Linked DNA regions of Homo sapiens: regions 2, 3 and 4 are each linked to region 1. Evidence: promoter capture Hi-C in human tissues and cell types (Jung and others, 2019). All regions are on one chromosome and are shown on one strand. The core of a region is centred on a gene start or on the middle of the fragment in contact, and the rest is flanking DNA. Distances in the headings are between cores, read along the strand shown.

Region 1 (7,118 bases), core at 3,064-5,563:
CGTCTTCTTTTTTTTGAGATGGAGTCTCACTCTGTCACCCAGGCTGGAGTGCAGTGGTGTGATCTCAGCTCACTGCAACTTCCACCTCTCAGGTTCAAGCAATTCTCCTGCATCAGCCTCATGAGCAGCTGGGATTGCAGGTGCAGGCCATCACCCCTGGCTAATTTTTTTTGTATTTTTAGTAGAGACCGGGTTTCACCATGTTGGCCAGGCTGGTCTCAAACTCCTGACCTTGTGATCCACCCACCTCAATCTCCCAAAGTGCTGGGATTACAGGTGTGAGCCACCGCACCTGGCCAACTACTAACATCTTCTAACCCCTGGTTCAATTCTGCTACTTGAGGCTTTTTTTTTTTTTTTTTTTTTTGAGATGGAGTTTCACTGTGTTGCCCAGCCTGGAGTACAGTGGCATGATCTCAGCTCACTGCGGCCTCTGCCTCCTGGGTTCAAGCGATTCTCCTGTGTCAGCCTCCTGAGTAGCTGGGATTACAAGCATGAGCCATGGTGCCTGGCCTAGGCTACTAATTTTTTTTTTTTCAAAGCTGTCTGCAGTTTTGCCTTGACTTAGAATTCATCAACTGGAGCCCACAGTGATATCATTGCACAGGATTGAAGTTGTATCAACTAAATTCAGATAAAGATCTCCTACGTTAATTAATTAAACAAATTGTTGAGTACATTTGCTAATTTTGTTAGAGGTGCTCATTGCTTAATAACTACAGGACACATTCTATTGAATATACTGGGAAAAAGCTGTATCTTTCTCTGAAGGTATACAAAACAATATTAAGAAGCATAAAAAATATCTGTCCATAAAAACATGATTATGGCCAGGTGCAGTGGCTCACGCCTGTAATCCTAGCACTTTGGGAGGCTGCAGCAGGCGGATCACGAGGTCAGGAGTTTGAGACCAGCCTGGCCAACATGGTGAAACCCCATCTCTACTAAAAATACAAAAAATAGCCAGGCGTGGTGGCAGGTGCCTATAATCCCAGCTACTCAGGAGGCTGAGGCAGGAGAATTGCTTGAACCCGAGAGGCAGAGGTTGCAGCAAGCCGAGATCGTGCCACTGCACTCCAGCCTGGGCAACAGAGCAAGACTCCATCTCGGGAAAAAAAAAGTGATTATATGAGTTATTTTTATTTTTATTTTTTGATACAGGGTCACCCAAGCTGGAGTGCAGTGGCACAATCTCAGTTCACTGCAGCCTCAGCCTCCCAGGCTCAGGTGATCCTCCCACCTCAGCCTCCTGAGTAGATGGGTCTACAGGTGCATGTCACCACGCCTGTCTTATTTTTGTATTTTTTGTAGACACGGGGTTTCTCCATGTTGCCCAGGCTGGCCTTGAACTCCTGGGCTCAAGCCATCCACCTGCCTTGGCTTCCCAAAGTGCTGGGATTACAAGCATGAGCCACCCTGCCTGGTCTATATGAGTTCTTTTTAAATCATTATCTCTTCAAGGAGATAACAATCATCAATAGGTTTTGTACAGATCCAAACTCTCTGCTTGTGGATTCTCTTAACATGATACTTTGTAATTGAAAAGAGAATATGAAAATGCCAAGCTTTGTAACTTCAAAGAACAACAATAACAAAAAGCCTTTGCCTAGAGATCTAGATAGGAAAGTGATCCCGCCAAAATTTTGGGCCTGTGTACAGGGCTGTGACCCAAGTGGGACACCTGGGGTCAATGAGCAGAGTTCGGTGCAGAGGGTCATTTGTGTATCTTTTGAATATTACTAACTGCATCTCAAGATCATGTTAGAACGAGTATTGGCTATTTGGCTTTTTGTGTCATCTTGCCCCTTCCCGTCTCCATTATGGAGAATTGAGGTTTTAATATACGGTAGTGACATTCTAGTAGATGAAGGAAGGGGGCTGTCCCCAGTGGGCAATCTGAACTTCTGCTTCGTATATTTACTCTTGCTGTTTTCGTTTCTCCTCATTTGTAATTCAGGAGGCTCTCTGAGAAGAGACAGCAAAGCTTCTTAGATGGATCGAAAGACCACGAGCTGGGATACCAAGTTCTATGAAAAGGTCAGCTATTGAATTTACTCTGCTACCTTCAGGCAAATCATTTGATCATCGGATGCTCTGGTTTCTTCCTGTGCCTGCTAAATGTAAATAGCATGGGTTTGAGTGTTTGGTGGTTATTATAGAGTATTTTAAATGTATGAGTGATTTATTTTTCTAGGCCAGCTGCTCAGATATAAAACAAAATCTGCTCCTTTGAGCTGTTAGGCTTCGTGGCAGTCAACTGACCCCAAAATCCTTCTGACTACAGCAGCCATCTACTTGCTTGTTCATCTGATAACATTTTGCAGTCTCTCAGCTACAGCTATGTGGTCTCACTCTATAGCTGGGGCATACCTTTTTGTCTCCTTTGTCTTCAGAAAGGAAATATGCCATTTTATGCACTCCTGCTGCTTTCACCCCCACTTTAAAAAGATGAAGGCTTCCTTTTGTGACAGAGTTGCTTTGTCTGTTACACTGATCCTAAGAGACAGGAAGGAGAGGTGTCATAGTAAATAAACAGTTATTGGACTTGCTACCATAGTTCCTTTTTGATGACTTGGGCCAGGACCACTAGAGGTTTGAACTAGATTTAGTAAGGCTTGGGCTTTTCGGGGTTTTGGCAGGAAGCAGTCAGGGAGTATATTGGAAAGAGAGAACACAAAATACCGAACCCCACCCACCCTGTGCCTTTTTGTTTGTTGTTACAGCCTGTTACATTAGGCAACAAGATATCCTTGTTAGCCAAAGGTGCCAAGCTGAGATTCTTAAAAGCTAATGAAAGAGCTGTTGGGCCAGGTGCGGTGGCTCACGCCTGTAATCCCAGCACTTTGGGAGGCCGAGGCAGGCGGATCACGAGGTCAAGAGATGGAGACCATCCTGGCCAACATGGTGAAATCCCGTCTCTACGAAAAACACAAAAATTAGCTGGGCATGGTGGCGCGCACCCGTAGTCCCAGCTGCTCGGGAGGCTGAGGCAGAAGAATTGCTTGAACCCGGGAGGCGGAGTTTGAAGTGAGCCGAGATCGAGCCACTGCACTCCAGCCTGGAGACAGAGCGAGACTCCACTCCGTTTCAAAAAAAAAAAAAAAAAAAAGCTGTTGGGTAAGGAATGATTTTGTTCCCCATCTGTGGCTCACCACCCCACTGTTTCATAAATGAAAATCTCTGATGTGCAACGCTGAATTAACCAAAAGGCTTACTTCTTTTGTTTTGAACTTAGACACATTTACATTATTTCTGGTGCAGTTAAATTAAAAGCACTTTCCAAACAAACCTAGGAAAGTATTAAAGTTAGGGACTCCCACGAAATGTTACTCCTTAATTGTGGCTTGGATAATAGCAGGAAGAACTGCAGACAGGAACACAGTGTAACTAACCCTTCAGTTCTGAAATGTTGCTAGGTCTCCTCGTGTTATAAATGATCAAATAAATATCCGGGTTAAACACTGCTCCCAGAGCTGAGTTCACTCTTAAGAGTGTTGGGTCCAACTTCCCTGTGCTAATTCAAGGAAACAAGGCAGCCAAGGAGTCTAACTTGAGGTCTTCATTCTTGGGCAGGGCCATCAATACATCTAAAACATTACTTGTGGGTACCCCAGCTGCGGTAGCTTCCCCAAAAGGCAGAATTTTCACTCATTCTTTATAGAAACACGTAGCCAGCAACTTCTCAGGCTTGGGGAACGGGGCAGGCGGGTCGTGGTGGTGGGGAGAGTAGAGGAGGGAGTCTGGCAGGTCGGTTCTAAATGTAAACTGGAAACTACGCATCCGAGCGGGCAACCATCACTGGCACCATTCGTCTCCGGGAAGAACCTGTGTGTGTCAGGATGCACGAAAGGAATGACTCCCCTCTTTGCGCCCCCGGGGTTAACTGCACGACCCTGTCAAAGTCCCGCCGTGGAGTGGGATGAGGGTCGAGAGGTAACCCTGTCAAAGTCCCGCCGTGGAGTGGGATGAGGCGAGGAAAGACTGGAGGTCCTTCCAGCACCACCTTGGAGGGGCAGGGAGGCTGCAGTTACCGCCTTCGGAAGTGATCTCCTCAGCCCTCAAAAAAATTAAAACCACCTCCGCCATTTACTAGAGGCCAAGGCAGGGCCGGGACACGAGAACGCGCTCCGGGCGGATGCGCGCTCCCTTTGTCCCGCCTCCCAGCGGCCCGCTCATTGGACGGAGGGAGGGCGCCGGGGGAGAAAGCGACGCGGCCGCTCGTAAGTGCTCCGGATGGAAACTGGTGCAGGGGGCAGCGGCGTTCCGCGGCCGGAAGGGAAGGGGGAGGTGCCGAGGCTGCGCGCCGGCTGCTCCTCCCCACCCCCAGCCTTTGCCCTGAAGGGGGCTGGATGGGCAAGGCGGCCGCGATGGCTCGAGCTCGGGCGGTGGCGGCGGTGGCCGGAGGCGGCGGTGCCTCCTCCTCCTCGCCCCGGCGCCGGCGGTGATCCGAGCGAGCGGCCGCGGCCCCCGATGAGACTGCTGGCGGGCTGGCTGTGCCTGAGCCTGGCGTCCGTGTGGCTGGCGCGGAGGATGTGGACGCTGCGGAGCCCGCTCACCCGCTCCCTGTACGTGAACATGACTAGCGGCCCGGGTGGGCCGGCGGCGGCCGCGGGCGGCAGGAAGGAGAACCACCAGGTACGGGCTGGGGCCGGGGCCGGGGCGGGGGCGTGGCGGCCCGGCCTTCCCGCGCTGGGCCCGGCTATTGTGCGGGACGGCTCCGCGAGGGGGCGGCCCGGCCCTCGCCCCTCCGCCTCGGCCCCTTGGAAAGTTTTCCCCGCGCCTTCCCCGCCGGGCGTCGACTCCGCGAGCCCCGGGCACCCGGCCGCGGCCCCGCGAGCGCCTTTTGTTCCGCAGCGCAGGCGGGGCATGGCCTCCCGGGCCCGATCGTGAGCGGCCCGGAGCCCCGCATTGTTCCTGGGTCCCGGGCGGTGACTGCGGACGCCCGGCAGCGGGACTGGGGAACTTTGGGGCCAGAGCGTGGCTGGGGGCGCCCGCCTGGCACCGAGGCCTGAGACTGAAGAGACCCGGCCAGATCCATTACCCCGAGAAACAAAACGAAAAGCCAGCCCCTCTTGTTGTCTCGTTGAATCCCAGAACGTACAAAGGGTCGTGAAGAAATGTAACTGTACATCGCAAGCCATTGAACTCTCCAGGCTGATTGGGGTGACATTTCTCCCTAAGCACTTAAAAAATGGGTTTGACAGGTTGTCGCTCCCATCCTACGGAACCTTCCCCTCCTACCTAGCAGAGATCTCCTTTAAACTTGGATTTAGTCAGCCTGCTAGAAAGATTGTGTGTGATGAGGAGGAAGATTATGCAAGTTTTACAGGAAGGGTTTTTAAAACAGAACGGGACGGGAGGGAGTTTTAGTTATGCATCGTGAGCGTTACGCTGTGACCGGGTAGGTAGGCTTTTCATTAGCTCAGTCTTGCGCCACTTAAACGTGTACAGGTTAACTGTAGAATTAAGTGAGATATTTCGTATATGACCTTAACATAGTTTGCAGTTAATGTTAAATTCATTGAAAAGAGGCTTTTGAACTCTGCCAGAGTGTTGGCTTGTCATAGCTAGCATTTATAATACATTTTGCTTTTCCATAGAGTATTAATTATTCCCTATATCATCTTGTGTCTCATCATTTTCATATATTTCTCATTTTCCTACATTACTTTTTTATTATGCCAGGTGTTCAGAGAATTTACACCCAGGTTGATTTCATGTGTTTTAATGAGGGTAGAGAATTGTCTAAGAAGGAGATAGAGCAATTTAGAAAAGTAGCATTTAGTCTTTAGTAATATGTATATTGGGCTTTTTTCTATTGTTAAAGGAATCCTAAATTTCTGTAAATTTTTTTGAAAGCCTCCAGCCATTGCAGTTTGTTAGGTGCAATATCAGTATCATTGATCACTTGTATGATATGGTTAGGAATGTATGTAAACTTAAATTGCAAAACCACATTTATTCCTATGGATTATTTGCTTACACTAGTTCATTCTTATAGAGACAACTCAAAGGTACTGTACCGTTGACTGTACAGTTACCAGAATGTCACATATGGAACAATGGGGTAGACAATGAATTAGAAATGTCATTTTTAACATTTTTAAGCAGTTGATAGAAATAAGGTCCTGGATAGGAGAAAAAGCGATTTATCTCCATTGATGGGGGATTATGGTTGAGTCTCTTAGCTATTGGTATTTATAACACTTATCATGATTACCCCTACTGCAGCCACTTGGTAGGTTTTTAGTGCTCATAAAAGAATTGCACTTATTTTAAAATTGAAACACTATTTCAACACTGTGATGTGTATGGAGGCGGAATTGCAGCTGTAGACATAGCCTCAGAATATCTCCCAGCAGAGGATACTTTCTGACTGTACCTTTTAAAAGCTGAATCTGTTAAGTTCTAATGAAAACTAATACTGGTTTCAGATACGTTTATTTCAGATACCGTATTTATATTCTGTGTGTGTGTGTGTGTGTGTGTGTGTGTGTGTACCCCTTCACTAACAATTCAGCAGATAATTTCTTTAGGGTGAAGACTTAATATGGTGTTTTCTGAATATTTGGGGGATGGGTCAACTCTTTTCCTTAGAATAATGAATCCAGACATTATTTTGACATGAATACATTCATATTATGAAAATAATCGTGCATGAATAAAGATTAAAAGGAACAGAAGAAAGGTGTGTAGAAACCACCATGAGATAAAGTAGGAAACTGTCCTTTCTGCACTGTGGCTGGAGTTGATAATTTGTTTTCCACTTAATATTCCAGGATCCTGGGTTTGCCTTATAACTTCGTTGCTTGTGAAGTAACTGTAACTGTTTTTCCTCCTTCAGATTAATAGTTTTATACAAGGTCTTCTAAGTGTTCAGTTGGGTGTGTGAGTTCCATAGCCAGCCACATCTGGGCCTTTTGGAGTTGCATAAAAGTAGGGTTGTGGATTTGATTGAACCATACTTAGCAAAAGTGTTCCTTCTGGTTATTTTATTAAGGAATTATGATGGAGGATTCTGTGGTTAAAAGAGAGATCTTGGGCAATGTTTATTCGTTAAAAATGGCTATTTTGTTAGTATAGTTTGGAGAGGCAAGGCTCCTTTGGGCTAAAGCTGC
Region 2 (7,118 bases), core at 1,889-4,388, 1.4 Mb after region 1:
AAAGAAACAGGACTTCATCAGCTGCGTGGGTGGAAAACTGGCCAAAGGACTTAGTCTCTGTAACCCTGAGCGCCCTCCAAGGCTGTGCATTCAGAGCATGTCAGGCCAATGAGCACCCCCATTAGCTGAGCAGCCCCTCTAATTAGCATAGCCCCTGAGGAAGGAGGGCAGAGGCCTGGGTCAATGCAGAGAGGGTCCTGCCCTCCCTGTGGATCATGGTCTGGAGACCAGGTTTCACAGGGTCTCCAATGTGCATTTGAATGTCTTGCTCTGTGCTGTCACTCCCTGGCTTGAATACAGATTAACCCTGCTGAAAGACAGCAGCTGCTGCAGGGAGGGGGCTGACTGGAGCCTAATGTCTGCCAGAAGATGGAGAATTCCTCCACCCAGGGGCTCTCAGCTGGGGCTCCCTGAAACTAGAACACACTTAAGATATCAGTAACAGGGGATGGCACCCAAAACGAGGGAGGAGCGCATGCTTATGACACTTAGCATTCAATAATTTCCAGAAAAACTTTGTAGAGGTCTTTACATTTACCAATTTTGTTCAAGCAGTTTTTGTTTTAATTACACATGGCATAGGTGGTGGAAATCATCATCTTTCATGATAGCTGTGCTCATGTATAGCAGTTACTATATCCCAGGCACCATTCTGAAAATTCTTAAAATATTAACTCATTTACTGTGTACATGAATGCTGTAAATTACATAATCCATTTTTGTCATTATTTCACAGGTGAGGAAACTAAGACACAGGCAGGTTAAAGAACTTTTCTTTCAGGCTAAACAATTAAATGATGAGGCTTGGATTTAAACCTAAACAAGGGTGCATTGCGGTTTTATCAGTTAGCTTCTGCTATGTAACAAACATCCCAAAACTTAAGGGTTTAAAATGGCATGTTTATTATTCTTAATGATTATGTAAGTGACATGGTTCTTTTGGTCTGGGTCATCTCAGCTGATCTCTTTGGTCAGCTGGCAGCTCTACCAGGGCTGGATGGTCTAGGACGGCCTCATCCATGTGTTTGGTGGGTTGGCTTCAGGTTGGCTAGGGTGCTGGGAATGACTTGGCTGTGTGTCCCTCATCACCCAACAGGCTGTCCTGGATTTATTCACATACGGGTGTCACAGGGTCCTAAGATGAACAAGAGAGGGAAGATTCTCAATAAGCAAGTGCTTTTAGAGCCTCTGCTTGTGTCATATTTGCCAATGGTCCATGGGGCAAAGCAAGTTACCAGGCCAGCCCTGAGTCAGTGTGGGAGGGGAATACCCAAGGAATAAATAGTGTCTATTTTTACGATCTCCACAATAGTCTGAAATCTGAACCATTCATTTGTCTGCCTCATAGGCTTCTAATAGTCTTAACCCAATTTTGGTTCTCAGCGGAGCCCAGAGCAGGAATAATTGAGAGAAAAATTTCAACTATTTTCCGAAAGGGGTCACATACTCCTCACCCATGCCCAAGTCATTCGTGCCTTTCTTCCATTGCCCCCACCTAATTGTCATCCCCGCCACCACCACCACCATTGTGCGGAAACAAAATCTGATTAAGTGCTCATGGATGGAAAAGAAAATGGATTGTGATTCAGGGAATTTGAATTTAGTTACTCGAAACTAGCTGTGGGACCTCGGGCAGGTCACCTCGATTACTCTGACCCTCAATGATTTTTACTTTTTCAATGTAATAGCCCCAATTTTTCTATAAACATGAATTCAGTTCCCACTGTGTACTAGGCATTGCACTGAACAACACAGATACCATTGTGAAAACAGACACAGTCCTTGACTTTATGAAGCATATAGCATAATGGGATAAACAGATGTTTATCAAATAATCTCCATAATGGCATATAATTACAGACTGAGATAAGTGGTCTGAAGGACAAGAGCCCAATTCTATGAGAAGTTACTACAAAGGAGTCTGGTGTAGACCATGAGAGAGGAGCATGAAGGAAAGTCCCCGTCAAGTGAAGGACAGTTGAGATGAAATTAACTGGGAGGACCAAGGCAGATGACATTGAACCCAGAGTTATTGGGAGAAAATTCTCCATAGATCTCTTGTATTTCTGCATGTTTCGAAAGCAGAGGGCCTGTCTGCCTTTGTCTTGGGCTATATTTTCAAGGATATTTGGAAAACAACCTTGAAAGATAGAGATGATATCTTCCTCTACAGTGATGGGTAGGCATGCTCACTGCCCAGTGTAGAAGATTCAGTTTCCAGCTGGGTATGGTGGCTCATGCCTGTAATCCCAGAGCTTTGGGAGGCCAAGGTGGGAGGATTGCCTGAGGCCAGGAGTTCAAGACCAGCCAGGGAAACATAATGAGACCCCGTCTCTAACAAAACAAATTTTTTTCCAATCAACTGGGCATGTACCTGTAGTCCTAGCTACTCATGAAGCAGAGGCAGGAGAATTGCTTGAGTCCAGGAGTTTGAGGTTACAATGAGCTATGATTACATCTACTGCACTCTAGCCTGGGCAACAGGGCAAGACCCTGTCTCTAAAAAAAAAAAAAAAGAAAAAAGAAAAAAAAAGAAAAAGATTCAGGTTCCCTTTTCACATCACACTTTTGGAACTGGGGCTTAGAGAACCAACACAAAAATGATGATATTCTGGATTCTGCTATTGCTATGAGTCATAAACTATCCTTTGTCTCTGACCCAGGTGTCTCATGTCTTTTGCAGCATCCTTGAAGTTATGGCCAACTAACAGGTTAGCTTGCAAGGAAGCTAAAACTCAGATCCTTCACAGTTCTTAATATTTTCAGGTTCCCTGAAAAAAGTGACATACAAACTGGAGCTTAAAGGATGAATAAAGCAGGAGGACAGAGGGAAGGAAAGGAATTTTAGGCAGAGAATATATGCAAAGACTTGGAGGTGATGAAAAGCAAGGACACACCAAACAAAATTTGCTCAGTCTAGCAGGACTACAGAACCTGGTGATGAAATGGAAAGAGATGAAGCCAGAGGGGTGGGAAGGAGTGGGAAGATGGTGTTTAGGTATGTTAAGCAGGGAGACTTTATCCTGAAGGCAAGTGTAAACCACTGAAGGCTATTTGGGGCAGACTGGACTCAAAAGACATTGAGGGAAATTTTGAATGCCCTCTACCACCTTAGCCTCCAGAACATTTTCTACCTCAATACTGCCCATGAAATAGCCTTGGTTGCAACTTAGGTTGGCATAGCAACTGATGATGTGGTTGTTTTCACCACAGCTTTATTTTTATTATCTCTATATTGTCAAGCTGGCCCTAAGTGTCTGGACAATCACAGAGCACTGGATGTGGGGAAGAGAGCTAGAAAGCCAGCCTCCCTCTGGCTGAAGAGTGAACAGCAAAAAGAGGTAATTTCTTTTACAAGACTGAGACCACTAACCAGTCCTCTGTGGCCTGACTAGTGACTACTTGTTTAAGCCAGTCAGGCCAGGCAAAATAACCTCTTCCCTGCAACTTATGCAATACATAGTGAGAGATATTACACTTGGGGCTTCAGAAAGAACTAATTTCTCTTATTTGAGTGTATGTGGGATATACAGTATATTTGAGTGTAGAGTCAGACCACTTGGGTTTAAATCCTGGCTTTATGACTTCAGGTAAATGAATTAATCGCGCTGTGCCTCAGTGTCCCTACCTGAGAAATGGGACCTAGTTCAACAGGCTGCCATGAAGATTACACATTAAGTGTTCAGAACACTGTGTGGCACCTTATATGCATTCAAGAAATATTGACTATCATTATTAGTGTTTATTTGAAATATATCTCCTCACAACCTCTATCGTTCAAAAACTTCAAATATTTACATCATTCCCAATAGAGTAGGTATCATGCAGCAAATTAAACACCTGTAGCTACTGCATCATTTTCAAAGAAACTCCCTCTTAGAGTCCGTGGGAATCACTAAGCTTTGCTATTCAAAACCTGCCAAAATACCATTGAATGGCCCTACTTCAACACAATTTGTTGATGGCTCCCAAGTACTTACAAAGTTTTCTTCCTGAGGGAGACCTGGGGCTTGTAGATTATGGGGCTCATCCACAATTGCTGGTGCAACCCAGAGTCTTTAAACTGGGGAAGATCCACAGAACATGAAAAGCAATAAACTATTGTTGTTTTAACCCACTGTTTCAAAGTGGTTAGTCAGGAAGACACAACTGATAGAGGGAACAGACAGATTCCTCGCGACGCCTCCAGAGATTCTGACTCATGAAGTCTGGGGTAGGGCCTGGGTAGCTACTGTTAACTTATCTCCCCAGGTGATTCTAATTTACTTGGTTTCCATCAGGGTTCCCCCCAACCCTTCCTGATGATAAGAATCACCTGGAGATTCCTAGACCCTCACCCAGGCCTTCTGAACCAGAAAGTCCAGTGGGGAGCTCTGGGAATTGAGAGACTGAATATACAGGTGGACAAAGGCTAGACCATAATAAAAATTGAATTCTGACCCATTCTCTGTAGCAAACTCTCCAGGAAGCCAAACAACAACTCCTGTAGCCATCGGCTCAGACGAACCAGGACTTAATCAATAACTGACAGTTTTCCTAGTTCTTTTTATTTATTATTATTTTTTGTAAAGATGGGAGTCTTACTATGTTGCCCATTCTGGCCTCAAACTCCTGGGCTCAAGCGATCCTCCCACCTCAGCCTCCCAAAGTGTTGAGAACTCAAGCTCGAGCCACTGCACCTGGCCCAATTTCCTTAATTCTTGGCCTTGCTTCCAATTTAAGACCAACCAGAGAAAGTCAAACATGCCCCCTAACAAATCACATAGGATTTCCTGCCCCTAGTTAACTTGCCTCTAGCTTCCTCTGGCCAGCAGCCTCCACTCAGGGCACACCTGAAGTCTCCCCTGCTTCCCGCCTCTACAGCCTCCCCACTCCTCTGCCTACCTTTGAGCCTCTACCAAACAAAAGTGAGGATGGCTGACTCCCTTGCTGGAGCAAGCCCCAAATAAATATCCTTTGCTTGTTCTCATTTAGGTGGTCTTTTAAAAATTACAACTGAATTTATATATTTGATAAAAACAAGTGATTCTCTTATCATATGGAAAATTTGGAAAACACTCTCCCAGACCCTTGCTGCTCAAAATGTGATTCCCAGAACAACAGCAGCAGCATTGAAATGTAGAATCTCAGTCCCCTCCCCAGACTTACTGATTTTTAACAAGAACCCCCAGGTGATCCTCCAGCACACCAAAGTGTAAAAAGCATTAACCAGGAGCATTGATCAAGTCAGTGGGTCTCAACCCTGGGTGCACATTAGAATCCTCTGGGCCTGATTAATTGGTCCTGGGTAGGACTTACACATCAGTGGTCGTAAAAGCTCTCCGGTTGATTCTTATGTGCAGCCGGTGCTGAGAATCATAGATGTAGGACAAGGGTTCCCACACTTTGGGCTATGTCAGAATCATCTGGAGAACTCACCAAGTACACAGAGGTCCTGACTTGATAAAAGAGGATGCGCCTGGGCCTTGTTTATCTTACCAAGTTCCCAGGTGATTCTGAAACTGACCAAAGTATGAAAACTGATCTAGGAGAAGTGCTCTAAGGGAAAGAATCCCATGGTGACCTCCTTGGAACTCCAAGGAGGGTGAGACGGTTCTTGTTTCTTCCCAATATCTTCTCCTTCCTCAATTCGACTTGGCCAGCACCATGGCTCATAAAGTTTATGGAATGAAAGAACTCAGAACTGGAGGGAACTGAAGGCATCTTCAAGTACAGAAAACAGGGATTTGTCAGCCAAATTCAGCTCATGACTGTGCATTTTTTTTAATTAGATAGTTTTATGGTTTTTAAGGTTTAAATCCATTGCCAACACTTTTTTTTTTTTTGGAGACAGAGTCTCACTCTGTCGCCCAGGCTGTAGTGCAGTGGCACGATCTCGGCTCACTGCAATTTATGCCTCCCGGGTTCAAGCGATTCTCCTGCCTCAGTATCCCGAGTAGTTGAGACTATAGGTGCATGCCACCACACCCGGCTTATTTTTTATATTAGTAGAGATGGGGTTTCACCATGTCAGCCAGGATGGTTTCAATCTCCTGACCTCATGATCCTCCTGCCTCAGCCTCCCAAAGTGCTGGGATTACAGGCATGAGCCACCACGCCCGGCCACCAACATTTTTTAAAAGGAGATTGAATTTTCAGATTCTTCTGGAAGATCAAAGACCTAGCAATAGTAGACTACATTCCTACATGACTGCAATTGGCCAGAACAGCCCCTTAAAATGCAGCATGTGCTCACCAGTTTGCCACCGTCCCTGCCTGATCCACATCACTCATTTTTGTTACCCGCTTGGCCCTGCGAGCATCTAATTTGGAGTCTTTCTTTATATAGAGAGAGTCCAACCTCGCCTTTTGTGGAAGAAAAAACCGAGCCCTATACTCCAGTGGAAGCTGTTTGTCCAACGTCCCTCACTTATGGCCAGAGCTGAGACGGGTCAAAATTCTGACTGCTTTTTGCTTGTAGGGGGTTGGGGATTCTGTTGGGTTAGTGTCTCCCTTCCTGAGATCCCAGCCAGAGGCCAAAGACCTAGAGATCCTCAGTTCCCACTTAGAATCCAGGGCAAAGCTCTCTGAAGCACTTTGCTCTTGGCTTTTGGGCTGTCACCTACTAAGACACACCTATGCAGCAATTTACTTAGCCTCTCTACGTGTCAACAAACTCATCTACACAATGAGAGTAACAACAGTGCCTGATCTATAGGGTTGTTTTGAGGGTTAAATTACACTGTGTTTGTAAACCATTATTCTGGCACTTGAGACATAGGAAGGGCTCCATAAGTGAACGTTAAATAACATTAATGATTTTTTTTCAACATATGTGCTCATCTGAGAGCACCACCACTGTCCAGCTTTAAAATGGTCTTCAGTTTCTGCCTGTCTCAAACTGACTCAGAAAGCAGTGTGTTGAGAGAGCCACCTATTGGAGAATAGCATTAGGCAAAGCTCTTAAAATGTGCTAAGCCTCAGCTTTTTGTCATCTGTAAAGTAGGGATAATAATAGCACTTACTCCTTAGAGTTGCCGTGAAGTTTAAATGAGATAATGCATGTAACAGCGTTGCTTATCAAGTGCCTAGCTCCCAATCAATAACCTTGGGGTTTTGACTCCTTGAAGCAGAGTCAC
Region 3 (7,118 bases), core at 1,550-4,049, 1.3 Mb after region 1:
GCTCATGACCTGAGCTGACCACTCAGGGAACTCCATGCCTCCTGCCTGCTGGGATTTCTTCAGGAATGGCATGTGACTCAAAATGGGTGAATCCAAACCTCCCTAAGATACGGTCTATGGACTCTGGTAGAAATAAGTGTCTTTTCCTCTGGGATCAAGCTGTGAGGATTATGTAACCCAGGTGCCAATAGACACCTTTGCCAGTCACCTGAAGGGAGAAATCTGCAAAATGAAATCAACATACAGAGAACAGCAGAGTCGAGTGATGGATACAGAGAGCCCCAGGAACGCTGTTAGATCTGGATGGGCTTGAGACTAGATGCATCGCTGGACTTTCAAAGTATGTGTGGCAATACATTCCCTTGTTGTTTGAGAGAGTTTAAACTGAGTTTCCATCACTTGCAACCAAAGGACAGATCTCCATTCAAATTCTAGCTCTGCCAATTACTAGCTCTATGATTCTGGGAAAGAACTTCCCTCGTCTAAAGTCACTTCCCTCGTCTGAAAAGTAGAAATAATCACAGCACATGTCTTGTAGGGCTGCTGACAGAGTTAAAAGGAACACCTAGGGATGCCCCTGACCACTTCTTGACTTCAGCAGGTGATTTGTGAAATGCTGTTTCCCTTCCTCCTCCACTGCTGAGCGTTGAGAGGACACTCTGCCTGCTGCTGTGTGGAGCAGACATTTGCGCTGTCAGGAGGAGACAGGGCTGAGTCCACATGGTCACCTCAGGCTCCAAGGGCTCTCCTGGGTCCTGCTTCTTGCTCGGTCTCTACCCCTTCTCCTGTTTCCTCATCTCCTCTCAGTCTCCAGAGGGCTCCATGCTCTAAAGAGGGTCCCAAAATCCACATTAAGCCATATTGGAATGGAAAGAGCCAAAAGAAGCCAGTTGAGAGAAAGTAGAGCTTGCAGGAAGCTGACAGGAATGGGAACAAAGAGGTCAACATAAGGGAAGATGACTCTCACGACAGAATCCTAACTTCTCAGCAAGGTGAGGGCAGGAGGGTACTTGGGGGCCTTGGAAAGCTGGAGAAGACTCTTCACAGCATCTAAGAGACTTATGACAAAGGCTCGTAGGTTACTTTAATTCTGGGCAAGTTTCACAAGGACAAGAACTGTGGGTCCTTTGCTCACTTCTCTTCTCCCAGCATTTTCTCAGGTGCCTGGAATCGAACAGGTCCTTTGTAAACATCAGCAAAAGAAAGAAGAATAGGCCAGTGGCTGAGGCATGCAGGCTTCAGATTTGCAGACAGTAGCCTGAAGCATCAGGAGACACAGTTTATTTGGCTCTTATCATGTTTGTTTGTTTGTTTGTAGCTGTTGATGTTGTTTAAAAATAATTTGCCAAAATTTTATAACTGAGAAATTTTGCATGAAATCTTTATTTCTTACATCACATTTTAAAAATGATACACAAGGTCAGGTGTGGTGGCTCACACCTGTAATCCCAGCACTTGGGGAGGCCGAGGTGGGAGGATCCATTGAGCCCAGGAATTTGAGAGCAGTCTGAACAACATGGTGAGACCTCATCTCTACAGAAAATGTTTAAAAATTGGCCAGGCATGGCGGTGCACACCTGTGGTCCCAGCTACTAGGGAGGCTAAGTTGGGAGGGTCAATTGAGCCTGGGATGTTGAGGCTACAGTGAACTGTGATTAGACTACTGCACTCCAGTCTGGGCAACACAGCAAGACCCCATCTCAAAAAATTAAAAAATGATATACATAGGGTTTCCAAGAGAACCTTGGAGATCAGTGAGGGAGTGAACTTAGCTGCATTAAGATTCCCAGATCACTGGGTGCAGTGGCTCATGCCTGTAATCCCAGCAATTTGGGAGGCTGAGACAGGCAGATCACTTGAGGTCAGGAGTTTGACACCAGCCTGGCCAGCATGACGAAACCCTGTCTCCACTAAAAATAAAAAAATTAGCCGGGCATGGTGGCATGCGCCTATAGTCCCAGCTACTCAGGAGGCTGAGCCAGACTTGCTTGAACCCAGGAGGCAGAGGTTGCAGTGAGCCAAGATTGTGCCACTGCACTCCAGACTGGGTGACAGAGTGAGACTCCATCTTAAACAAACAAACAAAAAAGAGGCTGGGCAGGGTGGCTCATGCCTGTAATCCAAGCACTTTGGGAAGCTGAGGCAGGTGGATCACGAGGTCAAGAGATTGAGACCATCCTGGCCAACATGTTGAAACTCCGTCTCAACTAAAAACACAAAAGTTAGCCAGGCGTGGTGGTGCATGCCTATAGTCCCAGCTACTTGAGAGGCTGAGGCAGGAAAATCGCTTGAACCCAGGAGGCAGAGGTTGCAGTGAGCTGACATTGTGCCACTGCACTCTGGCCTGGCAACAGAGTGAGACTCCATCTCAGAAAAAAAAAAAAAAAAGATTCCCAGACCATAGCAACATTCCTGCTATCTGTATACTCCATTTGGGGAAAATTCAGATCACTTTATAGTGCTTGCAGAATATTATAAAGTGCCAGCAGATGCCAATTCCCAAGCACATGAGCCATTCTTGCCTCTGAGAACCACAAGATGAAAGAAAATGATTGTAAAGAAGCTCAGGAAGTGTCCCACCAGCCCAGCTGTATCAGACAACTATTGTCCATAACATCAGCCCTGCAACTCAGTCTGAGGGTTTAAACCCTTTCAGAGACAGCCAGAAAAAATTGGAGAGGCCAGAATGGCAAGGAAACTAAAAAACAGGTCCAATGAGAAACAGTTGGATGAATAGGAGATATTTTTCTGGGACAAAAGAGTTATCTAAGATAGAAGTATTTGAAAAGCTGTTATGTGGAAGAGAAATTGGGTCTGTGCTATGTAGGGTGGGTAGGAAGTCCAGGCATCCACAATTAGCACAATCCAAAAAATAAAGTGAGCTCTTTTAGAAAGTCACTCTAGTGGCTATAATAACTATGTAACTGGTTTTTGTTTTTTGTGGTTTTTTGGATTGAAGGCAAAATATTACACGATGGCTAAACTGTACACTTCCCTTCGGTTGAGGTTTGAAGTCAACAATTAATGCTTCTCTTCACTTTCTGGTTCTAAACTAAGTTAAAAAAATAGGTGCAGATGGAAATTAAAATATAATTTAACTTGTATTCCTCATCAAGCTAGATTGAAGAATGAATCTGGAACCCAAGGCCAAAATTAGGCATTCCATAGCTACTCATCACCTCTTAAACTTGACTTTGGGATCTGCCTGAAGGAAAAGTTGGGGAACCCACCCAGCCAGCCACAGAGGAGATCTAGACTTCCCTCACCCTCTCTGGGGCCTCACAGAGAACAATCATAAATGTGGCTTCCAGACCCACCTCTAGAAATCAAAACAACTCGGTCCTGCCCCACTGAGGATAAAGGCTCTATCATTTTTCTGCAATGGGCAAGTCACAGAGACAGAGGAAAAGGGAAAGACCCAGGGTCAAGAAAGGCATTGAGCTATGCTTGACCCAGATTCCACTGGAATTCACTTGTAAATATGAATTTTGACATCTGATACCTACAGGGTGCTTGTTATGTGTCAGGGACCATTCTTGGGGCTTCACATGATATCATGCATCTCATTTTATCTCATTGAATCCTTGTGACAACCCTATGAATTATTACTGCTACTGTCTCTGTTTTATAGATAGGAACCCAAGGAATAGACAGGTTAAATAATTTGTGTAAGAACACACTAGTTAGAGGTTGGGCTGACTTTTAAACCCAGGTTCTTCTGACTCCAAATTGAGCTCCTGCCGAGGTAGAAGGAAAAGCAGAAGCTTCATTTACAATAGTTTACGGAGAGGATGCGGGTGTTTGCGGGACTCTCCGTAACTTCTCATCACAGGATTCTATCCATAATAGAAGGAGCTTCACATTCTGTCTTCTTCTTCCTGAGCCCTGGGACTGGTCCTGTAGCTTCTGGGTTCAAACCTTTGCTTTGCCACCTTTGAACTGGATGGCCTTGGGTAACTTCCCTAATTTCAGTTTTCCCATCAGCAAAATAGAGAAAAAAATATATATATATATATATTATATATATATATATATGTCTACTCTCAGTTTTATCCCTTGTAGAAAGTTAGTCAGGCTCTGATCCCACCTAGACATCTATCTTGACCATCACTCCTTTTGACCTGTAGCGTTTCAGCCCTGAACCACTGCATTTTTCACTCTTTTTTCTTTCTCTCTCCCTCTCTGTCTTTTTTTTTTTTTAAACAGAGTCTCACTCTGTCACCCAGGCTGGAGTGCACTGGCATGATCTCAGCTCACTGCAACCTCCACCTCCCCAATTCAAGCGATTCTCATGCCTCTGCCTCCCGAGTAGCTAGGGTCACAGACACGTGCCACCACGCCCAGCTAATTTTTTTATTTTTAGTAGAGATAGGGTTTCGCCATGTTAGCCAGGCTGGTCTTGAACTCCTGACCTCAAGTGACCCACCCACCTTGGCCTCCCAAAGTGCTGGGATTACAGGCATAAGCCATCGCTCCCAGCCAACATTTTTCACTCTTATGTGACATATTGCCACCCCTCCCCCATCCCCCGTTTTCCCTCTTTAAGGATCTGTGAGAGGTGGCTTAGAAGAAAAAGTCTTGCCCCAACTTTGTTTCTGTAAGCCTCCAATATAGAAAAATCTTTCAGATGTCAATGCAATCCATAGTCCCTAGAGATAAAATTGAGAGGAGGGGAAAAAAAAACAGGAAGAACAGAATTTTGAACTTGGGGCTATTGCTCTTAAATCTCACTCTCTGCTAGAGGACCTCACTCTATGTCATTGTGGATCCCATTTAGTCCTCATTTTTCTTTTCTTTTCTTTGTTTTTTTTTTTGAGACAGAATCTCACTCTGCTGCCCAGGCTGGGGTGCAGTGGTGGGATCTCGGCTCACGGCAACCTCCGCCTCCTGGGTTCAAGTGATTCTCCTGCCTCAGCCTCCCGAGTAGCTGGGATTACAGGCGTGCGCCACCACGCCCGGGTAATTTTTGTATTTTTAATAGAGACGGGCCTTCACCGTGTTGGCCAGGCTGGTCTCAAACTCCTGACCTCAAGTGATTCACTTGCCTCGGCCTCCCAAAGTGCTGGAATTACAGGTTTGAGCCACTGCGCCCAGCCTAGTCCTTAATTTTTTACTGAAGATGCTCCTCTGCTGGGGATAAAGTGGGGAAGACTGAGCAGAAGGTTCTGCAGACAGTTACCCGGTCCACCCACTGTGGTCACTGGTCGACAAAATGCCTGGAGTCAGAGATAGGGACAGACCATCTGGCCCAGTCCAGCTCTCTCAGCCTGTCCCCAAGGGTCAGGCCATCAGAAATCAGCCTTTCTTTCCTGGCTCATGTGTGGAAGCCCAGGCTCCCTCATACCCTAAGACTGAGAGCTAAATGTACGTGGCTTACATGGGATGCCGTTAACACACAGATTATCTTCTAAGCAAAGTAGCCCTGGAGGTTCATTTTCTTTTCCCTCAAAACCCTCTCCAAGCAGCTACGGATTCTGTTTTATAGCTCAAGTTAGCTGCACAATTAAACCCAAAGCAGCTCATTTATGAATATGAGATGCCAAGTTTCCCTGCAAAACATAGCAAAGTAACAGATGCTTTAGAGCAATAAACAAATTGAAATATAGCTTTTTGTTTCTTTCTCTGATACTAATGGGCAGAAAACCTTTCTTGGGAAATACAACTTGGGGAGGTGGTGATGTAAAATGCTGTGTTCATGTCTCTCCATTGGACACAGGGCCTGGATGACCCATATTTGAAGATCTACATTGGCCCAAACCCCTGGGCTTCTTGTGTGAAGTGCAGGGATGCTGCCGGCCTCACGGAAAATAGACAGCGTGTAAGCCCAGCTATAGGGGAGACAGCTTGGTAAACTAAGTGAAGACTTGATTTCACCTCCTTTTCTCCCTTGGCTGGGCACCCTTGGCCAGAAAACAACTTAGCACAACTCTAAGTAGCGGGCCTGACATAATTATTTTTCTACCACCTAGAGAGTGACCTCTGTTTCATAGATTTGAAGAAACAAAACAAATTCAAGAACCCCAAAAGGGAGACATTTACTCTGTTTTCCTTTGCTGGCTTATACTTCACATTTTTAGTGTTACTGTGGCATCGATTCCACTTCTTTTTCTTTTTTTTTTTAAGAGAGGATCTTGCTCTGTCACCCAGGGTGAGAGCAGTGGTATGATCATGATTCACTGCAGCCTGAAGCTCCTGGGCTCAAACGGTCCTCCCACCTCAGCCTCCCAAGTAGCTGGGACTACAGGTACACCTAGTTAATTTTTAAACCTTTTTGTAGAGATGAGGTTTTGCTATGTTGCCCAGGCCAGTCTCAAACTCCTGACCTCAAGTGATCCTCCTGCCTCTGCCTTCCAAAGCACTGGGATTACAGACACAAGCCACCATGCCTGATCTAATTCCACTTTTAAATTATGAGTCACAATTCATCAGAGTCCCTAGCAGTTCTAGTGATTTATCGTGTGCACCTGGGAACCTCCCACTCTATTCCCCCAAAGGCCATTTCAAACCTTTCAGTCCACTGTAAATCTTTGGCCCTGCTCTTCAGCACATGACCTTGCTCCTGCAAATCCTTCCATTTCCCACTGTCTTCATTTGTTTGGGTGGCTTATACATAACAGAAATCTATTTCTCACAGTTTTGGAGGCTGGGAAGTTCAAGATCAAGGTGCTGGCAGATTCAGTGTCCAGTGAGACCCCATTTCCTGGTTAATTAATAGCCATCTTCTTGCTGTGTCCTCACATGGCAGAAGAGATGAGGGAGCTCTCTGAGGTCTATTCTATAAAGACACTAATCCCATTTGCTGGGCTCTGTCTCCATGATCTAATCACCTCCCAAAGACCTGACCTTCACATATCATCACCTTAGGGATTAGGTTTCAATATATAAATTTTGGGATGACACAAACACTCAGTCTATAGCACCCTCCAAACTATTTACACAGCTGCAGGCACCTGTAGCAGACACGATTGGTGCTTGGCTCAGATCCCTCTTAGTCTTCACCCTCACATGATGAAGGCTGTGACTCAGTAGGGGCATGCTTGGCCCATGAAGGCCGAGGTGGGAGGATCGCTTGAGGCCAGGAGTTTGAGACCAGCCTGGGCAATATAACGAGACCCCAT
Region 4 (7,118 bases), core at 2,122-4,621, 1.2 Mb after region 1:
CTGCCCTCCTCACCTCCCATGCAGATATTCAAACTCCTTTTTCAGGTGTTTGCTCCAGAGTTGCTTTCTCTGGGGGAACTTATCCGACCCTCCACCTGTGTAGGATGCTTGGTATATACTTGCAAAGCTTAGGAACCTACTGGACTTGAGCCAGGAAATGAGGGACTCATGCAAAGCTGCCTCTTTCCTTGGGGTTCCATGTTGAGAGAGATGGGCCTGAAAGCCACCGTGAGCTGGCAAGATGGGGTACAGTTAGATTCTTTGTAAGCAGTGTGCTGACTTGCCTTAAAATTTAGCAAAACTTTTTGAAAATTCTGCCCTGTTTTCATTATGCTTTTTTGGGGCTGGAGCTGACCAGGAGAGGCAGCAAGAGCCAGAATCAGAGTGAGGGTCCTCAAATGGAAAGTGACATTTAAGAGGCTCAATTCAAGGGCCCTTGATCAGGCATCCCTCTAAACCAGGGGATCCCCCTTCTTGTATTAAATTGTGGAGATTCAGAGTTTTGTGTTGTTGAATAATAGCAATATAATAACAGCAGCCATGATGCCCTGTATTGAGCATTTACTGAGTAACACCATGCTATGTATTTGCTTGCCTTACCTCACTAATCCTCATATGACCTCTAGGAGGAGGAAACTATCATCTGTCTCTGTTGAAGAGATGAACAGAGGTTAAGCGATTTGCCCAGGATCACACTTGTAATTAGTGGCAGAGCTGGGCTATGAAGCAGTGCTACTGTAGGAACAGAATCGCCAGGCCAATGCAGCATGCATCTGGCCTTTTTGACACAGGTGCCTATCTGAACCTTCTCAAGGGGGTGGCGCCTGTGGCCCAAGTCCCTGGTCCTTAGCAGTCTGCGGAGACCCAGCCTCTGCTGCTGGTTCCATGTACCCATCCCCCATCAGGGCTTCCCCCTCCTGCCAGCTCAGCCCTGGCTGCTTAAGTCCCAGCATGCCTCGGGCTGTAGCCAGCCTGAGTTATGACATAACTCGCCTGAAAATTTCCCTGTAAAGGGAAAGGGGCCAATCCAATGTGAATTATTCTTATCGTAAGCTCCCCAAAGCCAGGGACCTTATATGATTTATCTTGGTATAACCCACAGCACTGGGAACAGGGCCTGGCACACAGCACACAATAAATGTTTATGGAATTGACTGAAGTTTTCAGAGAGACGAGGGCAACACACACACACGCACACACACACCCTGGCACACAAGTAGTATATGCACAAGTGCACACACACTATACCTACAAATCCTTCACACCCACACACTCTCTTTACACACAAAGACACTCTGCACACACACACACTGATTTTGTGTGCTCTCTGAGTGTGAGTTTGTGTTTGTGATCTTTCTCTTCCTGTGACATGTCATGTGTATGGCTCCATCACTCATTTTAATTACATTATTGTGGGCTGTGTTTGGCCTTTGGCTATTTTTGAGGCCAGATTAGAAAATTTAAAAACATCCATCTTTCTTCAGGAGAAACTTATAACAGCAATTGCCCTGGGGTGGGGAATTGGGATACAAAAGTAGGGATGGGGGAATTTACTTTTCATGGTCTTCCCTTTTGTTCTGTTTACATTTTTTAAAAAACCATGTGCATGTGTTATCTTTTCAAAAAATAAAAATAGAAACATTTAGGAAAAAAAATAAGAAAGCTACCTTGCTTCCAAAACAACCACTCACTAACATAAAAGCTTTTTATAACTGGGTTAGTTAGAGATTAAAGTTGAGGCCGGTTCTGGACAGGTTCACAGGCCCCTGGAAGCACGTCACCACCACCCATGCTGCTGGCAGCCCTCTAGGGCTTGGGCTCCGGACGTTGTCCAGGATGAGCCCAGAGGGATGTTTCTTCTCCCAGGAGCTCCCCCGTGGTGACCCCCAAACACTCATTTAGTTATTCTCTTTGCTAGGTCAGTGACAAATCTGCAAGGATTAGGCGAAGTAAGCTCTGAAATCTACTCAGTAAGATGAAAATCTGTCCCCTCATTCTCAGGCTCAAGGGGAAGTGATTAAATCTGAGGAGTTGGGCTCAGGGGGCAGGGGGCTTGCTGTAGCCTTTGAGTTCGAAGTTCTGCTGCATCCTTTCCTGTGATTTTAGAATCACTGGCATCTGGTCTCCAGACACAGTGGCAGCTGTTTGGAGCCCCAGAGTCAAACCCAGGGAGGATTGGGGCCTCCGAGGTGGACTGGATACTTAAAACCAGCTAATGAGAGAGCTGGGGCTTTCTTCTGAGTCCAAGATATTCCTGGAGGGATTAATTTTTATCAAATGACTTCTTAATGAGAGTCCGCTTACCTCCAAATTTGGAGACTTTAAAGCTCCTGAAATTTAAAACTAATCAGCAGGCTGGTCTGCCTTGAATGTGAGGAGTTCACACAATTAGAAACTCAAAAGGGAAGAGAACATGTTAGTAACAGCCAGGAGCTAGCAGAGTGGAAAATATTAGCTTGAAATTCAGCAAGTGGCCTTGCTCTGTATCCTTGCAAATTCAGGATAGGTTGCTAGGTTGGGATCTGAAACTGAGGTCCTGGGAGCTGGATCTGGCTGGCAGATATGTTTTCCTTAGCCCACAAATAATTTAAAATTTTGGGAAATTTCATGGACAAATGTGGTTTAAGGAGCTTCTTTGTAAAGTCAGAAATTCTGGCAGGAATAGGACTGCATTCCTGCATAGACAACAAACTCCTTGAGCTGCCTGGCAGCAGTCCCTTTATGATGGGCCATGTGTGGCCCAGTTTGCTGCAGTCTCCAACTTTCCTTTAAGAGGAGAACTGTATGGATTATGTTACCTGCTCAGCCCTTGTGGATATTTGAGTCTGAGCTTCCTGCCCCAGATACACTATACTCATGCTTAGAAGAACTCATGGGATGGACCACTTTGCAAATTTGGGGATGATTTTTTTGACAGTGAGGCCAAGACAATGCCACCGGCCTCAGTTTGGGGAATTCTCCATCCCAACCCACACCTTTGATTTGGCTTCCCCAGTGACTCAGCTTCAGGGAACTAATGTTTCTCTCCTTTACCCTGTTGTGAACAGACTCTAGGATTGTTTCAAATGATCTCTGCCTCCTGGTGCCTTTGTAGAATCTTACCCCTTGCAGGATAGGAAGGACCTGTGACTTCCTTCTAACCCATATAATGGCCATGGTGACAGGATGACACTCTCATGATTATATGACAGAAGACCATAGCATCTGTCTTGCTAGCAGACTGTCTCTCTTTCTGGCTTTGATGAAGCAAGTGAGTATGCTGTGGAGGCCCATGAGCAAGGATCTGAGAGAGGCTCCTGTCCAACAAACAGCTGAGAACTAAGAGGGACCAACAGCCAGCAAGAAACTAAGCCTGTCAGTCCAACAGCCCACAAGGACCTGAATCCTGCCAACAACCACATGAACTTGGAAGTGGCTTCTTCCCCAGTCAAGTCATTGGATGAGATCACAGAGCTGGCTGACATCTTAACTGCAGCCTTGTGAAACTCTGAAGTAGCGAACCCAGGTAAGCCATGATCAGACACCAAACCACTGTCAGAAACTGTGAGACAATAAATGTGAGTTATTTCAAGCTGCTCAGTTGGTGGTATTATAATATTGTTATGTAACAATAGATAACTAACACACATGCCTTTTGGTCTTGGAGTTTCAACAATTAACTCATGGTTTAGAACTGCTAATTGCTGCTACTGATTCTTCGAAATCTGGATCACTTGCCAGGATAGACTCTTTTTTTTTTTTTTTGGTGGGGGAGGAGAGAATACGGCCACACTCCGTTCATACCTCTGGTGTATCATTAACCAAATGTCTCCCACAATAAAATGGCAGTTTCTTGATGGAAGGGATTGTATTCTGTTCATCTTGATGTCAGCAGTGCTGAATATTGTGTATGTGCTCAGTGAGTTGTTGTTGAGTGAATGAACATAGTTGAATGGCTGAATTGTCAATTGCAGGCACTTTTGTCCCCCTCTAGTTCCATTCTTAATGACTGGATCATCTTCTGCTGTTTGAAGGCACCAGAGTTTGATTAATACAGGTGACTAATATTCTTTTTGTATTTATCTTGTTTCTGCAGAATTTTTTGCTAATATAACTAATATAATAATAATAATGCTTCAATTCAGCATTCTAATAGCCAAATGTTTGTGCTCATTTATGATTGTTGTTGGGCCAAAACATATGTGTAATATTATGGTTTTTAATACTTACTGGAAAGATATTTACACTTCTAAAAATATAGTATATAGGAATGTCAACTTTCCCACACATTTACCAGTATTGGTTAGTATTTTTCTGGTTAACCTTTGCCAATTTAATAGGTGGGGATACTATCTTGTTGTTTTATTTGCATTTATTTGCTAGTGAGTGAGGTGGAATTTTTTATTAACAGTTTGTATTTCTTTTATAAATTTATATTTCATGTCCATTGACCATTTTTCTATTGGGAAGGTTGATCTTTATTTTATTGATTTGTAAGAGTTCTTTATATATTAGCTCTTAAGATAAAATATTACATATTATATATTATCATATATATGTTTTGGAACACATTAAAAAATTTTTATTTGGTGAAATTTACTAGTTTTTTATTTTACAGTTCCTGCCTTTTCTTCATACTTAGTTATTTTGAGAAGTATCTGTTCATATCCTTCACCCATTTTCTGATGGGGTTGTTTGTTTGTTTGTTTTCCTTGTAAATTTGTTTAAGTTCCTTGTAGATTCTGGTGAGGCTGTGGAGAAATAGGAATCCTTTTACACTGTTGGTGCGAGTGTAAATTAATTCAACCATTGTGGAAGACAGTGTGACAATTCCTCAAGGATCTAGAACCAGAAATACCATTTGACCCAGCAATCCCATTACTAGGTATATACCCAAAGGATTATAAATCATTCTACTATAAAGACACATGCACATGTATGTTTATTGCGGCACTATTCACAATAGCAAAGATTTGGAACCAACCCAAATGTCCATTGATGATAGACTGGATAAAGAAAATGTGGCACATATTCACCATGGAATACTATGCAGCCATAAAAAAGAATGAGTTTATGTCCTTTGCAGGAACATGGATGAAGCTGGAAGCCATCATTCTCAGCAAACTAACACAGGAACAGAAAACCAAACACTGCATGTTCTCACTCATAAGTGGGAGGTGAACAGTGAGAACACATGGACACAGGGAGGGGAACATCACACACCGGGGTCTGTTGGGGCATGGGGGGTAAGGGGAGGGCAAGCATTAGGACGAATACCTAAGGCATGCAGGGCTTAAAACCTAGATGACAGGTTGACAGCTGCAGCAAACCACCATGGCATATGTATATCTATGTAACAAACCTGCACGTTCTGCACATATATCCCAGAACTTCAAGTAAAATTTAAAAAAGAACAATAGAAAAAGAAAGTTATTTACCACCTTCAACATTATATGCTCATTCTCCAACCTTTTTTCTTTTCTTTTCTTTTGAGACGGAGTCTCTCTCTGTTGCCCAGGCTGAAGTACAGTGACGCAATCTCGGCTCACTGCAACCTCTGCCTCCTGGGTTCCAGCGATTCTCCTGCCTCAGCCTCCTGAGTAGCTGGGATTACAGGCACAAGCCACCATGCCCAGGTAATTTTTTTGTATTTTTAGTAGAGACGGAGTTTCACCGTGTTAGCCAGGATGGTCTGGACAGGTTCACAGGCCACCGGAAGCATGTCACCATCACCCATGCTGCAGACAGCCCTCCAGGGCTTGGGCTTCGCACATTGTCCAGGATGATCCCAGAGGGATGAGTTAGTCCAGGATGAGACCAGAGGCTACCGTTTTAGCCAGGATCCTGACCTTGTGATTCGCTCACCTTGGCCTCCTAAAGTGCTGGGATTACAGGCATGAGCAACCTTTTTTCTAAGGAAGTGGTTGATCTTCTGAGGACTTTTTACTCAATGTTGCAACTGATACAAGGACTTTCTCTGTATCAGTAATATTTTGGCCAAGCATAATTGAAATCTACACATATAGAATCAGACTTGATCTTTCAGCAGACTCACGCTGATAGATTCTTAACAAAACCTGTTTTCTCTACCCAAGACTCCAGAGGCTCTGCAGGCCTTTGCCTATCCAACTACTTACTCCCACATTCTTCCCCTTTCAGTGGTGGAAGCCACTTCATATCTTTATCTAAGCTCTAGGAATAAAAGTTTCCTTGGAAGACAGACTCAGCAATGAGTGTTGGGAGGCAGAACATGTTATTTTGACAACAGGTGGTAAACTGGACAAGTAATCAGTTCTGAGTCCTACAGGAAGTGGGAGCATCCTACAGGTGATCAGAAACATAATGGGATCAGGAATTGCTCAAGTATGGACTCAGTGCCAGCAACTGTGTTAGGGTACTAATATCTATTACATAACTTAACCTTCTTAATAACTCTATGGTGGAGACATTTTCAGCCACATTTTGAAAATGAGGGAACTAAGACTCAGGATCTTGATTCAGGTTTGTCTGACTTTGAGGTCTGTGCCCTTTCCACCACGCTACAATGCTGTTTCATGTGTCACTGCATGGCTATAGGTAATATTTGGGGATGCAGGCAGCATCAGGAGCAGAATAGTCAAGCTGTGGGGCTAGGTTTCAGGTGAGGTGATGGGTGAGCACCGATTTGGTATCTGGGTGGATTATTATAAAGGGGGAATGTGAGAGCCTCATGAACTCAGCCTTTGGCAGAAATGGACAGTCTGGTGCCTTGATCTACAAATGCCCGTTTAGATACTTCTTAGAGTTTTCTAACCCTGCATTTTCTTATCTATGCATGGGTTCACCCTGTGTTAACTTGTATTCCTTGTAGCAAGTTTTCTTTCACCATCCTCCTTTATTATCTGTAGGATCCCTTGGGGGTGACCCATGTATAAACCCAATGTTCTCCTTAGCATTGGGTGTTGGAAGTGTGCTGGTATATATGCCACTTTCCTAGTGCTTATGAGTAGGTATTTCACATCTCAAGATCATAGAGGGATAAGATAACTTCATCAGGTAGAATCATTGAGAGCAATTGTCTCTGAAACCATACTTCACTTATGTATTCCACAAATATTTATTGAGCACTTACTATGTGCCAAGCACCATCCTAGATGCCT

Evidence for each region. Contacts are between HindIII fragments. The study calls those that stand out against the background at their distance.
Region 2: a contact is called between a fragment that was not itself captured here and the fragment with the promoter of METTL9 in region 1, in 1 of the 25 tissues and cell types used here (lymphoblastoid cells).
Region 3: a contact is called between a fragment that was not itself captured here and the fragment with the promoter of METTL9 in region 1, in 1 of the 25 tissues and cell types used here (lymphoblastoid cells).
Region 4: a fragment that was not itself captured here is called in contact with the fragment with the promoter of METTL9 in region 1 in 1 of the 25 tissues and cell types used here (dorsolateral prefrontal cortex).

What each region holds. Positions count from the first base shown.
Region 1 is chr16:21,595,264-21,602,381 of GRCh38, forward strand. It overlaps METTL9 (methyltransferase 9, His-X-His N1(pi)-histidine), which reads left to right and starts at 4,314. Exons shown (of 5, transcript NM_016025.5): 1 at 4,314-4,635. The coding sequence starts at 4,471. It overlaps LOC101927814 (a long non-coding RNA gene), which reads right to left and starts at 4,122. Exons shown (of 3, transcript NR_110930.1): 1 at 3,393-4,122; 2 at 2,371-2,496. RefSeq lists a silencer at 4,301-4,920 and an enhancer at 5,029-5,593. The HindIII fragment of the contact is 5,713 bases long and covers 1-5,558 here.
Region 2 is chr16:22,970,458-22,977,575 of GRCh38, forward strand. No RefSeq gene overlaps it. Among named protein-coding and RNA genes, the nearest start is that of HS3ST2, 160 kb to the left of the region's middle. RefSeq lists a silencer at 6,314-6,494. The HindIII fragment of the contact is 6,084 bases long and covers 97-6,180 here.
Region 3 is chr16:22,880,660-22,887,777 of GRCh38, forward strand. The region is part of intron 1 of HS3ST2 (heparan sulfate-glucosamine 3-sulfotransferase 2); the gene reads left to right. Among named protein-coding and RNA genes, the nearest start is that of HS3ST2, 70 kb to the left of the region's middle. The HindIII fragment of the contact is 5,375 bases long and covers 113-5,487 here.
Region 4 is chr16:22,762,959-22,770,076 of GRCh38, forward strand. No RefSeq gene overlaps it. Among named protein-coding and RNA genes, the nearest start is that of HS3ST2, 48 kb to the right of the region's middle. The HindIII fragment of the contact is 7,746 bases long and covers 1-7,118 here.